2 separate regions of the Homo sapiens genome follow, and region 2 is linked to region 1. The links are contacts of gene promoters, found by promoter capture Hi-C in blood cells and fetal thymus (Javierre and others, 2016). All regions are on one chromosome and are shown on one strand. Each heading gives the region's core, a stretch centred on a gene start or on the middle of the fragment in contact. The rest is flanking DNA. Distances are from core to core; before and after follow the strand shown.

Region 1 (5,577 bases), core at 902-3,401:
AAGGAATGTGTGATGTGTGAGTGAGAGGCCTAGAAGCTGAAGCTTCAGTAGATTCAAGATCATCTTCTTCTGCCATGAAAAGGGTTTGAACCAGGCGGGCACAGTGGCTCATGCCTGTAATCCCAGCACTTTGGGAGGCCAAGATGGGTGGATCACCTGAGGTCAGGAGTTCAAGACTAGCCTGGCCAACATGGTGAAACCCCGTCTCTACCAAAAAAAAAAAAAAGAAAAAAAATTTGCTGGGCATGGTGGCGTGCACCTGTAATGCCAATATTTGAAAGGCTGAGGCAGGAGAATCACTTGAACCTAGGAGACAGAGGTTGCAGTGAGCTGAGATCCGCCATTGCACTCCAGCCTGGGTGACCGAGTGAGACTCCAGCTCAAAAAAAAAAAGAGTTTGAACCTTCTTTGGAGCCAACCCAAACTGTATGTGAATCCAAGCTCTGCACCTCAGAGAGAATAAGTCACTTGCTTGGTCGTACACAGCCAATGAGGAAATCTCCCTCCTCTGCAAAGCAGAGAAAATCACATTGGGAGAGCAGTGCAGGTCAAATAAGATAATATGGGCAAATATACATAAGCACACATACAGCACATGGCATGTAGGCTACTCCTTCCCCTTCCCTCTCCAGTGCATGGCTGTTGACTGAGGGAACTGAGGAGAGAGAAATCAACGGCCCTAGATTGGTGAGGAGCAGGGCTAACAGGACCCAGGGAGAGCTGGCTTTTCTCGGCCCACCAAGACATCTACTCCAGGAAACCTTGGCTCTGCCTCTGGCTCCTGGGAAATCCACGGCAAGACTCAGTCTCCACATCCCTATATGGGACTTGCAGAATACTTGCCTTAGCTTTGTCCCAGCACTTTGGGAGGCAGATTCAGAACATCTGTGCAATTTAAAGTGTGTCTTTTCAGCAAAAGAGCCAAGCCTAAGGAGACTCAACAAGGGTTTCGGCCAATTAGGCCTGAAAACTGCTGCACATTCTAAAACCATTGATTCATCTTCCTTCTTCTCTGCAAATCCCTGACCCTTGCTCACAGTAGATCATGTAGGGCTAGACCAAGGGATGGGGGGTGCTCTGTTCCCTCAAAGGCCCCTGGCAGGGGGAGGGGGGGAATGCTGAGTCCTCAGCTGTGGAGACCTCTCCCAGGAGCACACAGAGGAGGGATCTCCTCTATCTGAGAACACATCCACCCAAGGGCATCCTGGGAAGTGGCCTGGCTTGGGCTTGAAGTGACCTGTACCCCCATAAATGGCCCAACCAGGAAAAGGAAAACAGGCTGCATTTCCAAGCACCCTCCAGTGTCAGAGCAGGAGAACGAGGAAGCCCAAGGAGCTTTACCAGCAGCCAAAAAGGTTCCTGGGCTTACCTGTGTCTTCAAGTTATCAGCATCCAGGACCCCAATAGCAGTGCCTTGCTTTGTGTAAATACCCTCTAGGAATGAGATCTCGTGCCTCTCGGGCAGTTCAGATCTATCTTGGCCAGCTCTGTGCAAGTCTGTCCTAAGATGGGGCTTAACTCTGCCTTCAGGCCCTTCACTCTTCCTTGGAAGGTTTGAAGAGTGGGTCAGCTGCCCCTTCATGGTCCCAGACTGGGCACTGACTGGGAATGGGGAGCAGAACTGCCTCTCACCCTGGTGGACACCTGAGGGTCCTCCCTGCTGCCCACCACACAGATCAGACCCTTTGGGAGAGGTGGTCCAGCCTGGGGAACAGGGCAGGAATGGGTTGAGATCACAGAGAGGGGGTCCTGATAACCCCTTACCATCTGCTGCCCATCCATCACCCTTTCTCTTTGCCTTTGGTCTCACGCGGCTTATAGAACCTGCTTAGACTGCTAAGGCAAGGCCCTCTCGGCCGCTCCACTAACTTTTCTTCTGGAATGCTTAGCTCAGAGAAGACAGCTAAGCCCCTGAAAGTCACAGAGGAAGTTGATGAGAAAAGAAAACTGCGAAGCCCAAGCCCCACCAGGACTTAAGTACCCTGGGAAAGCCTCAGGACAACTTGGGGGAAAGACACTCCTGTCCCCCATGGTGTCCTCCTGTCCAGGACTGGGGGCCGCCGGCAAAGGGGGCGTGGCGGGCGGGGAGTCCTCTTGTCACGCCCTCCTGCCCCCGCCCGCGGCTGGGAGCCTGTCGCTCCGCTCTGCGCCGCTAATTGGTCTCGTCAGGCGGCCGGCAGGAGCAGATCCGAGCCGTGTCATCCTCTTAGCGCCCTCACGCCACCCGCCGCTCCCGCCCCGTGCCCCCTCCCGCCGCGGCTGCAGTCGCCGCTACCCCCATTGTGGTCTCTGCCCTCCCCGCGGGCCCAGGGCATGCTCCGTGCCCCTGCGCCCGGTCTCGGCGGCGGCAGGCGACACTCCGCGCCGGCGGAGACATGAGGCGCTGCCGGTGGGCCGCCCTGGCCCTGGGGCTGCTGCGCCTCTGCTTGGGTGAGTGGCCGCTGGGCCGCGCTGGCCGCGTGGATGGCGAGGGAGATGGGCGCTGGCGTCACCCAGGTGGCCAGAGGGACATGGTCCTGGACCACTTCCAGAGTGGGACTCGGGCTGGTGGACGGGAGCGGAGAAGTCCTTCCATCTTCCTGGCCCATTCGGTAGTGGGGAGTGGGGTAGCGGAGTAGTGGGGAGCTCCGGGGCGCTTCTCCAGAGCTGGCATCCTAGGGCCCCAGGGTTTGGCGCCCGGACCCCCGCTGCTCTCCGCTTGCTGGGAACCAGAGCTGTAGGCTTGGTGGCAGCTCCGATGCTGCGTGGGGCAGGAGATAGTGCCCTGACTCGCGGCTTGACCTTGGCTGGGCTGGGGCACTGCCCCTCTCCGAGCGCGGGTGCAATCTGCCCATTGATGAAGGAGGGGTTGGATTGCTACCTGGGTTCTAAGCGCCCACATGCTACGTGTCCCTGACAAGCCCGAGCCCACCGGGGGCGGAGTGGGGGTCAGGGGCATCCTCTGGGCGGCGCCCCAGTGGGGTCCCTCGGTGCACTTGGGTTGGGGAGGCGGAGCGCCCTCCTGCCCAGTAGCTGGGCCTGACGCGGGACCGCGCTGGTGCGAAGCTCCCTCCTGGTGTCTGGGTGTCCTTTGCCTGGGTGTCCGTCTGTTCTGTGTTCTTTTTCCAGCTCAGGCCAACTTCGCCCCGCACTTCTTCGACAACGGGGTCGGCAGCACCAACGGAAACATGGCTCTGTTCAGCCTCCCAGAGGACACCCCTGTAGGTGAGTAGCCCTGGCACCTGCTCCCGATAGGTCTCCCTGAGGGGTGCAGGCAGACTTAGAACACAAAGTGCCCCAGGCACCACCCAAGTTGCTGCGCGCGCCCGGGGGCTCCTTGTTTGCTCTCCGAATTCCCCTGGGCAATGGCAGGAAAGAAGGTCATTGCTGCCATGGCGACTTAAGTCTGGCCAGTCCTGGAGACCAGGGCTCCCCCCCACAGACAGGGTCGCCCCGCGAGGCAGGCAGCTACAGCTGCCCCTTATGGCTGTGTGACCTTGAACAAATGTATTTACCTCCCTGAGCCCCAGGTCTCTAGGCTTTAAAACGGCCTAAGAACATCCAACTTGCTGAGATATGCAGAGAGAGGGGAGGAGAAAGGGGAGATTTCACACTCCTTCTCCCTCACTTTGTGGGTAGTGGGAACCCGGGGAAAAGGGAGAGCAGAGCAAAGTAGGCACCTGGCTCAGAAATCCCTGCAGAACCAGGTCCAGGCATCGGGGACAGTGGTGCACTGTGGGTCACCCCTCCTGCCTTAATGGCTGCTCCCATTTCCCCTTCCCTGTACCCAGGAGCCCCTCAATCTTGGATCCTGAGAGAGGAGTTATTACCAGGCTGAGCAGAACATAGGCACTACAGTTAGGCACGGCAGACCTGCACCTGCTCTGTAACCCGTGTTATAGATTACAATCTGGAAAGTGGCTGATCATCACAACCACCCGCTGTGAAGAATAAACATACAAAGAGGGAAGCAGCCAGCAGGGGTGAGGCCAGCAATGAGCACCAAGTTCAGGGCAGTACCTTTGGCACTGAGTTGAATAGTCACTTTATAAACAGCTGAATCGTTGGTCCTGAGCATCTGCCACTTTTAGGAAAAGTTGGGTCTCAGATTCTATGTCTCTCCACTGTGTTTCCTTCCAGGCTCTCACGTATACACCCTGAATGGGACAGACCCTGAGGGAGACCCCATCTCCTACCACATCAGCTTTGACCCCAGCACTAGAAGCGTCTTTTCTGTTGACCCCACTTTTGGAAACATCACCCTGGTTGAAGAGCTGGACAGAGAGGTATGGGGAGGTGTGGGGAGTGCTGCGGGGCCACTGCCTGTAGACAGACCTCGGTGGGCTGAAGTTCCCCTGGAGCACATTGGTTAGAACCTCTCCACAGAGTAGGGGATGAGGGGGCACACCCCAGGCACATCCACTCTGTGAGATCTCTGGGCCACTTCCCATCAGCAGAGTGGGCTTTACTTTCATGCTCCTCCTTCACACAGAGCGAAGAGTGGGCTCCTTTAACGAGCACCTGCCAGCCCTGCTAATCTTTTAAGCATGTTCCATTAAAAATAAATCCGTTTGCACTTTGAGGTTTCTGAAAGAAACCTCACAAAGTGATTTTTCAAGCCTGTCCTGGGAGAGGCACAGGAACTCAGAGCAGGTCAAGGCTGGAAAGGGTGGTTGGCAGTGAGTCTGAGTTTGGCAGAGCTCCTCCACTCTACACACTTGAGAACTTGCAGGCAACAGGGCATGGGCTTTTTCAGACCGCATAGCAGCCTGGTGTGTGGCTAACTGGACCTCAGCTGTGGGGATGCTGCCAGCTCGTGACAGCCTCCACTAGCTGCAGGACAGGGTAGAGAAAGGAAAGGGAGGTCTCAGGGACTGCTGTGGGGACACAGCAGTGGAGCCTGACTGTGCTGCCAGTACCCCACTCCCTGGCACCCGCGGGATCTGGCAACATCCGATACCCTTCCCCATTGAGGTCTCACCATATCCTGGGAGCACTGAGACACCATGGATGTGAGCCTCTGCAGAGCCCTGGAATGTGGAGAGGTGTGGAGAGAAAAGGGGAGAAAAGGGAAAAGAAAGAGGAAAAGTCTTTATGGGACCTTGAGCACACTAAGGTCGACATCTCGCCTCACTGTGGCAGGAGAGTATTTTCTGTTGGAGCCCCAACAGACCCTCTGGGTCTCTGAGTTTATAAGAACCCCGGACACAAAAGTCCCAAAATAAGGTCTCAAGCATGGGGGGAGGCAGCTTTCTACTCTGCCAGGCATGCTGTCACCACCACTTACCCTGCTCCAGGGATCTATTGGCACGCCCAGACCTCCTCTGATGGGTGCGTGGGGCAGGGAGAGCTCCATCCAGCCACAGGGGTCCTATGGCGTGTCAGACTCCTGGACACTCACTCAGTCCCTGTGCTTCACAGAGGGAAGATGAGATTGAAGCCATCATCAGCATTTCTGATGGCCTGAATCTGGTGAGTGCACGTCCAAGGCAGTCCCTGGCAGCCTGCAGTATTTGGGCCTGAGAAGGGTGAGGCTGGCACGATTCCTCCCCAAGCCTTCATGGGGGCTTTTCTGCAAGTTTAAGCTAGGGCCCAGCA
Region 2 (6,742 bases), core at 2,316-4,815, 160 kb before region 1:
TAATAAAAAAAAAACTGCTATATGAAATTGCCTTTGCACTATCTGTATAGGATGTATATGAAACATAAACTTGGGTCCCATCCCCAAGATAGCACATTATGTATATGTAAATATGCCAAAAAAAATTAAAAATCCAAAACACTTCTGTCCCCAAGAATTCTGGATAAGAGATGTTCAACCTGTATCTCTAGGGCTGAAAGAGATGACACAATGAAGGAACTAAGAATTTGGAAGACCCTTTTCCCTCCAAGGCTGAGATTAAAGCCTCTTTGGAGAGGCCGTAGCCATCACAGAAGCACACAGGCCTCCAGAGGTAAAGAAATTTGCCAGGCTATGTGGAATAAAGCTGGTCTGCAGGAGCAGCCCATGGGATGGCACAGAAACCCACCAGAGGGTGCGAGCCAGCTGCAGCTGGCCCACAAGGCATGGCCTGCTGGGGTGCTGGTGGACCTGAGCTAGTCAGCAGGCAGAGGCCTCCTGGTAGCAGAAAAACACTCTGGAGAGTGAGGACTCCTGGACCTTCTGCATACTAGTGTGCTGGCAGCCATGCCATAGGAGAAAAAAGACCCCAAGAACCAGGAAAAGCTTTTTTTTTTTTTTTTCTGCCAGACTTGCAGCCCTCTCATGCCCTCTATTGGCAGAGCATAAGATTGCACCAGTTGGCAAAGGGGAAACAAAGGGTGGATCTGGAATTGAATGGCACCAAATTGATAACTGGCCTAAATGTATAGCCTAATTCCTAAGGATGCCACAAAGAAAAAAAAATTCAAAAATATTTAAGTAATTCAAAAACAAGAAGAAAGGGAGAATGAAGGAACAAGACACAAAAGGGATAAATAAAAAATGGTAGACTTAATCTCAAAATTATTATCCTAAGTGAAAGAAGTCAGACCCAAAAGAGTGCCTACTGGATGATTTCACTTATGCAAATTTTCAGAAAATGCTTCTTAATCTATAAAGACAAAAAGCAGAATAGTGGTTGTCTGCGACTAGAGAGGAGGGCAGGATAGGATTGGCTACAAAGTGGCATGGAGGAAATTTGGGGATGATGTAAATGTTCTATATATTGATTATCTTGGTGGTTTCATGGATATATATATTTGTCAGGAAATGCATCATTAAACTGTGTACTCTAAATGGATGCAGTTTATTGTACAACAATTTTACCTCAATACACTTTTTAAAAGACAATAGATAAAATGTATCAATAGGTGCAAGTGGGCTGAGCTGGAAGAGCAGGGGAAGAAGAGCTGAATGGCCATCCGATGGATGTAGTGCCCTTCCTACGCTGTGCTGTGCTTTGCAGCCTGTACATCACCAATGGAACTGAAGTCTTATGAACCCAGTCCCATCTAGAGAGTTACACAGCCTCAAAGATTCAGCTTTCCAGACCCAAGCATCATGGAGCTAATGTGGGTGGTACTTTGCTGTCCAAGGTATCTGCTATATTAATATAGCTACCCATGGTAGAATGAGAAAATCACCTGTTAGGTAGGACCTAGATAGAGACATCTCCTAGACATGCCTGGGCTCAAGCTCAGCCTCCAGGAGTTGGCTTCTGGCTTTGATGGACAGATAACTCCAGGAGCCCAACAGCCCCCTTGGAGGAGCACTGAAACGTGAAGGTACAGTGAACAAAGACAGGATGCTGAAGTTAGAAACCACATGGAGAGTCAGGACTGTACTAAATAACCAAGCATTTACTTCCCTTTCCCCCCTCCTTGGATGCCTTTAAAAATCAAAGCAAATAAATTTGTCCTTATGTAATTCACCAGTATGGTAAAGACCTCTCCCATACCTGTCAACTTTGGCAAACTTGAAATTGGATGATTTGGGAATAGGACAAGAAGGTTTTTCTGAGTCTAATAAAATGGGCTGTGAGCATTTCTTCAGATGAAACAAAAAGGAAAACACTTCAAAACAAAAATGCTCCAAGTAATTGATATATAGTTTACATTGCACATATAAAGCATGGAACTAATTGCTAAGTGGAAAGGGAAGTCTTGAGAACTGACCTTTCCAAACACAGTAATCTGCTTACAATAATACAAATAGAAGGATGTGAACTGAAGCCATAAAAATGTTTCTCTTTTAGTATATAAAATGTTAAAAGATCCATGGCCAAGCACAGTAGCGCACTCCGGTAATCCCAGTTATGTGGGGGGCTTAGGTGGTAGAATCCCTTAGCCCAGGAGTTCAAAGTCAGCCTGGGCAACATAGAAAGGCCCCATCAAAGATCCAAGTGGGCACCATTTCCTTTGAAGTCATCATTGTGGAAAACCATGCATTTATTCCCAAGCTTGTTCAGAAATTATATTTCGGAATTGAATTATTTTACCATATCTTAAATATTCTTTGTATCCACAGGGCTTCTTTATGCTGCAATCTGAACACAGTTATTCTGGAACAAACAACATAAAGTATAACATAATTGGTTAATATACTGGACTCTACAGATAATCAATAAATGTTGAAGTTCTTTGTCTTTCCTCACTAGTGATGAACTTTCTTATTCAGATTTCATTTTTGGCAATACAGAGAAGTCACTTGGAATAAAAATTACTCATTTGTTTACTCTTTATTGTACCCACTATGTTCCAGACACTGGTCTAGATCTGCACAGGGAAGATTGTCTTGATGCTTTAGAGTGAGTTTCAGAATCTGCCCTGGCAATGTGATTCAGCAAGTTACTGAAACTTCTGGGTCTGTGTTTTCTTCTGCAATAAAGGAGTAATAATAACAATGACATAAAAATGGTCCCTTTGGGTGGCTGTGTATTTATTCCGGAATGAAAGGTGTTATGGACTGAATTGTGTTTCCCAAAAACTGTTGAAGCCCTAACAATTTTGACAGTATTGGAGCTAAGGCCTTTAAAGAGGTTATTAAGGTAAAATGAGGTCATTAGGTCCTTGACTTGCATTAGCCATCTGCAAGTCAAGGAGAGGGGCCTCAGAAAGAACCAACCCTGCCAACATCTTGATGTTGGCTTTCACTTTCCAGAACCATGAGAAAATTAATTTCCATTGTTAAAGTCACCCAGTCTGTGATGCTTTGTGATGGCAGCCCTAGAAACCTAATACAAAGGGAATATGGATTTATTCCAGTCCTGTATGCTCCAGATAAGGCCATCCTTCCCGGCCTCCTCATTACCATTGGCAGAAGGGAAGAGGAAATGCCCAAGTATATAATAACCCTGGCTGGATTCCACCACCTCTCTCTTCGTTCCCCATTCTCTGACATTCACAGCTTTGCCAAATAGCTTACATTGATTCCAGCAAGGCTAATTCCTCCTTGCTCTCTACCTGATCATCACAAGAAGACCAAGACTCTCAGACTCCTGGTCACTCAGATCCTCTCCTTCTCAAATCCCTACTTTTACTCCAACTCCTAAAGACCTTTTCCTCTGTAACCTATAAAATCACAAGGCATTATCAACAAAATCTCTATTTCAATAATGTTTTTTGAAGAGTTCCCTTTGTTTTTCCGCTTTACAGAAACTGTTTTCCCTGAGAATACTGCTTCCCCTGCACTCTTCTCCAGGGCTGGTGATTTTCTCAAGCACATGCTTCCTATCACTGGGCCTGGTGACGGGGTAGGGTATTCTGCTTGTTCTTTGTAGCAGATCCTAAAACAATTTCCCTTTCTCTTCCCTAAACACCCAGCCTTGAAGCCTGCACCATTAGACAATGTATCATTTCCTCCTATTGAAGTCTTCAATGGACCTCGGCATCCCTAGGTTTTGTCTCCCCATTCCTTGTCACTCTCTCTAACGTGACTCACCATAATTCCTAGTGATTTTGAAATTCTTGGAAGTAAGACTCCCTGACCTCTCATTTTCTTGACATTCTCTTCTCCAAAAAATTTATCCTCTACTGTATATCTGCCATGACTCTCAGTCATATTCTAGATTGTCTTATGCTTTATCCATACTTGTCCTTTCTCTCTAAGTTCAGTTTGAAGACTTACACTCTGTTCATCATTTCTATATTTCATTCACTCATCCAATGAAATGAATGTTGTTCCAGGCACTGTTCAAGATGTTGGTGATATATGACTGATCCAAATGGGCAAAAATCTATACCCTTCTTGAACTTACATAGGATTGAGGGAGATGATAAACCAAATGTATACCATTTAATTTGTAATAAGTGCTACAAAAAAATAAAGCAAGAAAGAAGGTTAGGCAGTATTGAAGAGGTCCACTTATTTAAAGGGTGGCCAGGGAAATACACACACATACACACACAAAATATTTGAGCTAAGACCTGAATGCTGCAGGACTGAGACAGGAAGTCATCTGGAAGAAGACTGTTCCCAAAAGAGCAAATAGTAAATGCAAAGGACATGAGATGGGAGCTTATCTGGGTGTTCAAGAAACAATGAGTAGACCAGTGTGGTCAAAAAGGACCATGAGGGAGAAGGAGGAAATAAGGGTAGAAACATGGGTAGGGGATGGGAAAGCAGATCTTGTAGGGCAACCTAATCAGCCACGGTAAGGACTTTTGCTGTTACTCAGATGTGTCACCATTGAGACTTTTGAACAGAGGAGTGGTGTGATCTTCCCAATGTATTCCACAATACTTCAATTCTCAGAAACTCTTAACCTTACCAGGACCTTCAATCCACTGATCCAAACTCATTGTCCATCCTATAATCACTCCCTTAGAAATTCCCTCAACTTCTTTGCCTCTCACTCTGCAGTTTTCATCTGGAAAAAAAATAATCCCTAGTTAAATCTAACTTTGTGCCTACTCTGTACCTGCACTCCCACAGTTAACTGCAGCTGGAAACAAGCACCCAAACATACTGACTTAAATTCACAGTTACTAAACCAAGCTTTTAGTGTGCCCTGGCAATTCTGCTACATTCCTTTACCTCATTATCCCATAAGACTATTTCACAGCCTCTCTTCTCTTGACAAACCCCTCTCACCTCCTCCCCACCCTATCAGTTTATTTCCATTCCCTCACAAAACACAAACAAAAGAAAACTTCCATACCCTTCCAGTGCCGTGTTTACCAGCCTACCCCCATCTGTACACATACATCTCTGCCTTCCCTCCTGCTACTAAGGGAAGGTTGTCCTCACTCATTTCTCGGGCCTATGCTTCTGCTTAGACAATGGATCTTGTACCCTTTTACCCACTCAAGGACCTCCCTCAAGCCATTGTTCCCTCTCTATCCTGAATCACCAATTTTTCTCCTTTCTACTGGCTAATTCCTATCAACGTACATAATTTTAATCATTTCATCTTTAACTATATATATTTTTTATCCTACATCTCCTTCTACCAAATTCCATTTCTCTGTCCACTTTAAAGCTTGTCTATACTCATTGTTATGGGTTCAATTGTGTCCCACCAAAACTTTTATGTTGAAGTTTAACCCTCACCACCTCAGAATATGACCTTATTTGGAGATAGGGTCATTGCGGATGTAATTAGTTAAGACGAGGTCACGTGGGAGTAGAGTGGGCCCCTAATCAGAGATGACTAGTGTCCTTATAGAACACAGAGACACACAAGTGAAGATGAAGGCAGAGATCAGGCTGATGCAACAAAAGCCAAGGAACACCAAAGATTCCCAGCAAACCCCAGAAGCTAGGAGACAGGCATGGAGAGAGTCTCCCTCAAAGCCTCCAGAAAGAGCCAACCCTGATGACACTTTGATCATGGAGTTCTAGCCTCCAGAAATATGAGACACATTTCTGTTTTTTAAGTCACCTAGTTTGTGGAACTCTGTTTATGGCAGCCTTAACGAACTAATACAATGGCAATCTGATTTTCTCCTCCTGTCTCTTCTCAACCTACTCCAGTCAGGTTTTGCCTCCAGCATTTCAATAAAACAACTCATTTCTAAGTCTCCAATGGCATCCACATTGTTGAACAAAGAGGCTGATGTTCAATCCTTGTGTTAATTGACTTATCAACAGAAACAGTTGCTCAACCAACTTTCCTGACATACTTTCTGCACTTGCCTTCTAAGACACCATTTCCTTAAATACTCCTTCTACCTCATAAGTTGTGCCATCTAAATTCTTTTTTTTTTTTTTCTTTGAAACGGAGTCTCGCTCTGTCGCCCAGGCTTGAGTGCGGTGGCGCGATCTCGACTCACTGCAAGCTCCGCCTCCCGAGTTCAAGCCATTCTCCTTCCTCAGCCTCCCGAGTATCTGGGACTACAGGCGCCCGCCACTATGCCCGGCTAATTTTTTGTATTTTTTTTTAGTAGAGATGGGGTTTCACCATGTTAGCCAGGATGGTCTCGATCTCCTGACCTCGTGATCTGCCCGCCTCGGCCTCCCAAAGTGCTGGGATTACAGGAGTGAGCCACCGCTCCCAGCCCATCTAAATTCTTAATACTGGTTGTTCATCTTTCTGTTTTTCATTTAATATTATTATATTTGTGATATTCAGGCAAAATAATATGTATATGTAATATACATGTAGAAGTAAAGTTCATATGCTCAGTTCAATAATTATAAAGTCTTTAAGCACCACCTACACAAAGACATAGAACATTCTGAACTCCAGAAGCCCTTTATGTATGTACCCTTCCTAATGAAAACCTCTTCTCACTCAGAGGCACCAACTCACTTAAATTTTATGTTAACATTTTTTCCATAAGAGAGACATGTTTACGTTTCCCACCATGATTGTGTACTTTATTCTCCTTATAAGTCTATCAACTCTTGCTTTATATATTTTGAGACAATGCTATTAGAATTATAACAAATTTAAATTTTC

Evidence for each region. The method cuts DNA at HindIII sites, captures the fragments that hold promoters and counts their contacts. A CHiCAGO score of 5 or more calls a contact.
Region 2: a contact is called between a fragment that was not itself captured here and the fragment with the promoter of CDHR1 in region 1, in 1 of 17 cell types (neutrophils). The highest score is 5.7, in neutrophils.

The regions. Positions count from the first base shown.
Region 1 is chr10:84,192,386-84,197,962 of GRCh38, forward strand. It overlaps CDHR1 (cadherin related family member 1), which reads left to right and starts at 2,152. Exons shown (of 17, transcript NM_033100.4): 1 at 2,152-2,430; 2 at 3,109-3,204; 3 at 4,120-4,265; 4 at 5,401-5,451. The coding sequence starts at 2,376. RefSeq lists silencers at 2,048-2,177, 2,248-2,367. The HindIII fragment of the contact is 5,936 bases long and covers 41-5,577 here.
Region 2 is chr10:84,026,356-84,033,097 of GRCh38, forward strand. No RefSeq gene overlaps it. Among named protein-coding and RNA genes, the nearest start is that of GHITM, 110 kb to the right of the region's middle. The HindIII fragment of the contact is 2,537 bases long and covers 2,298-4,834 here.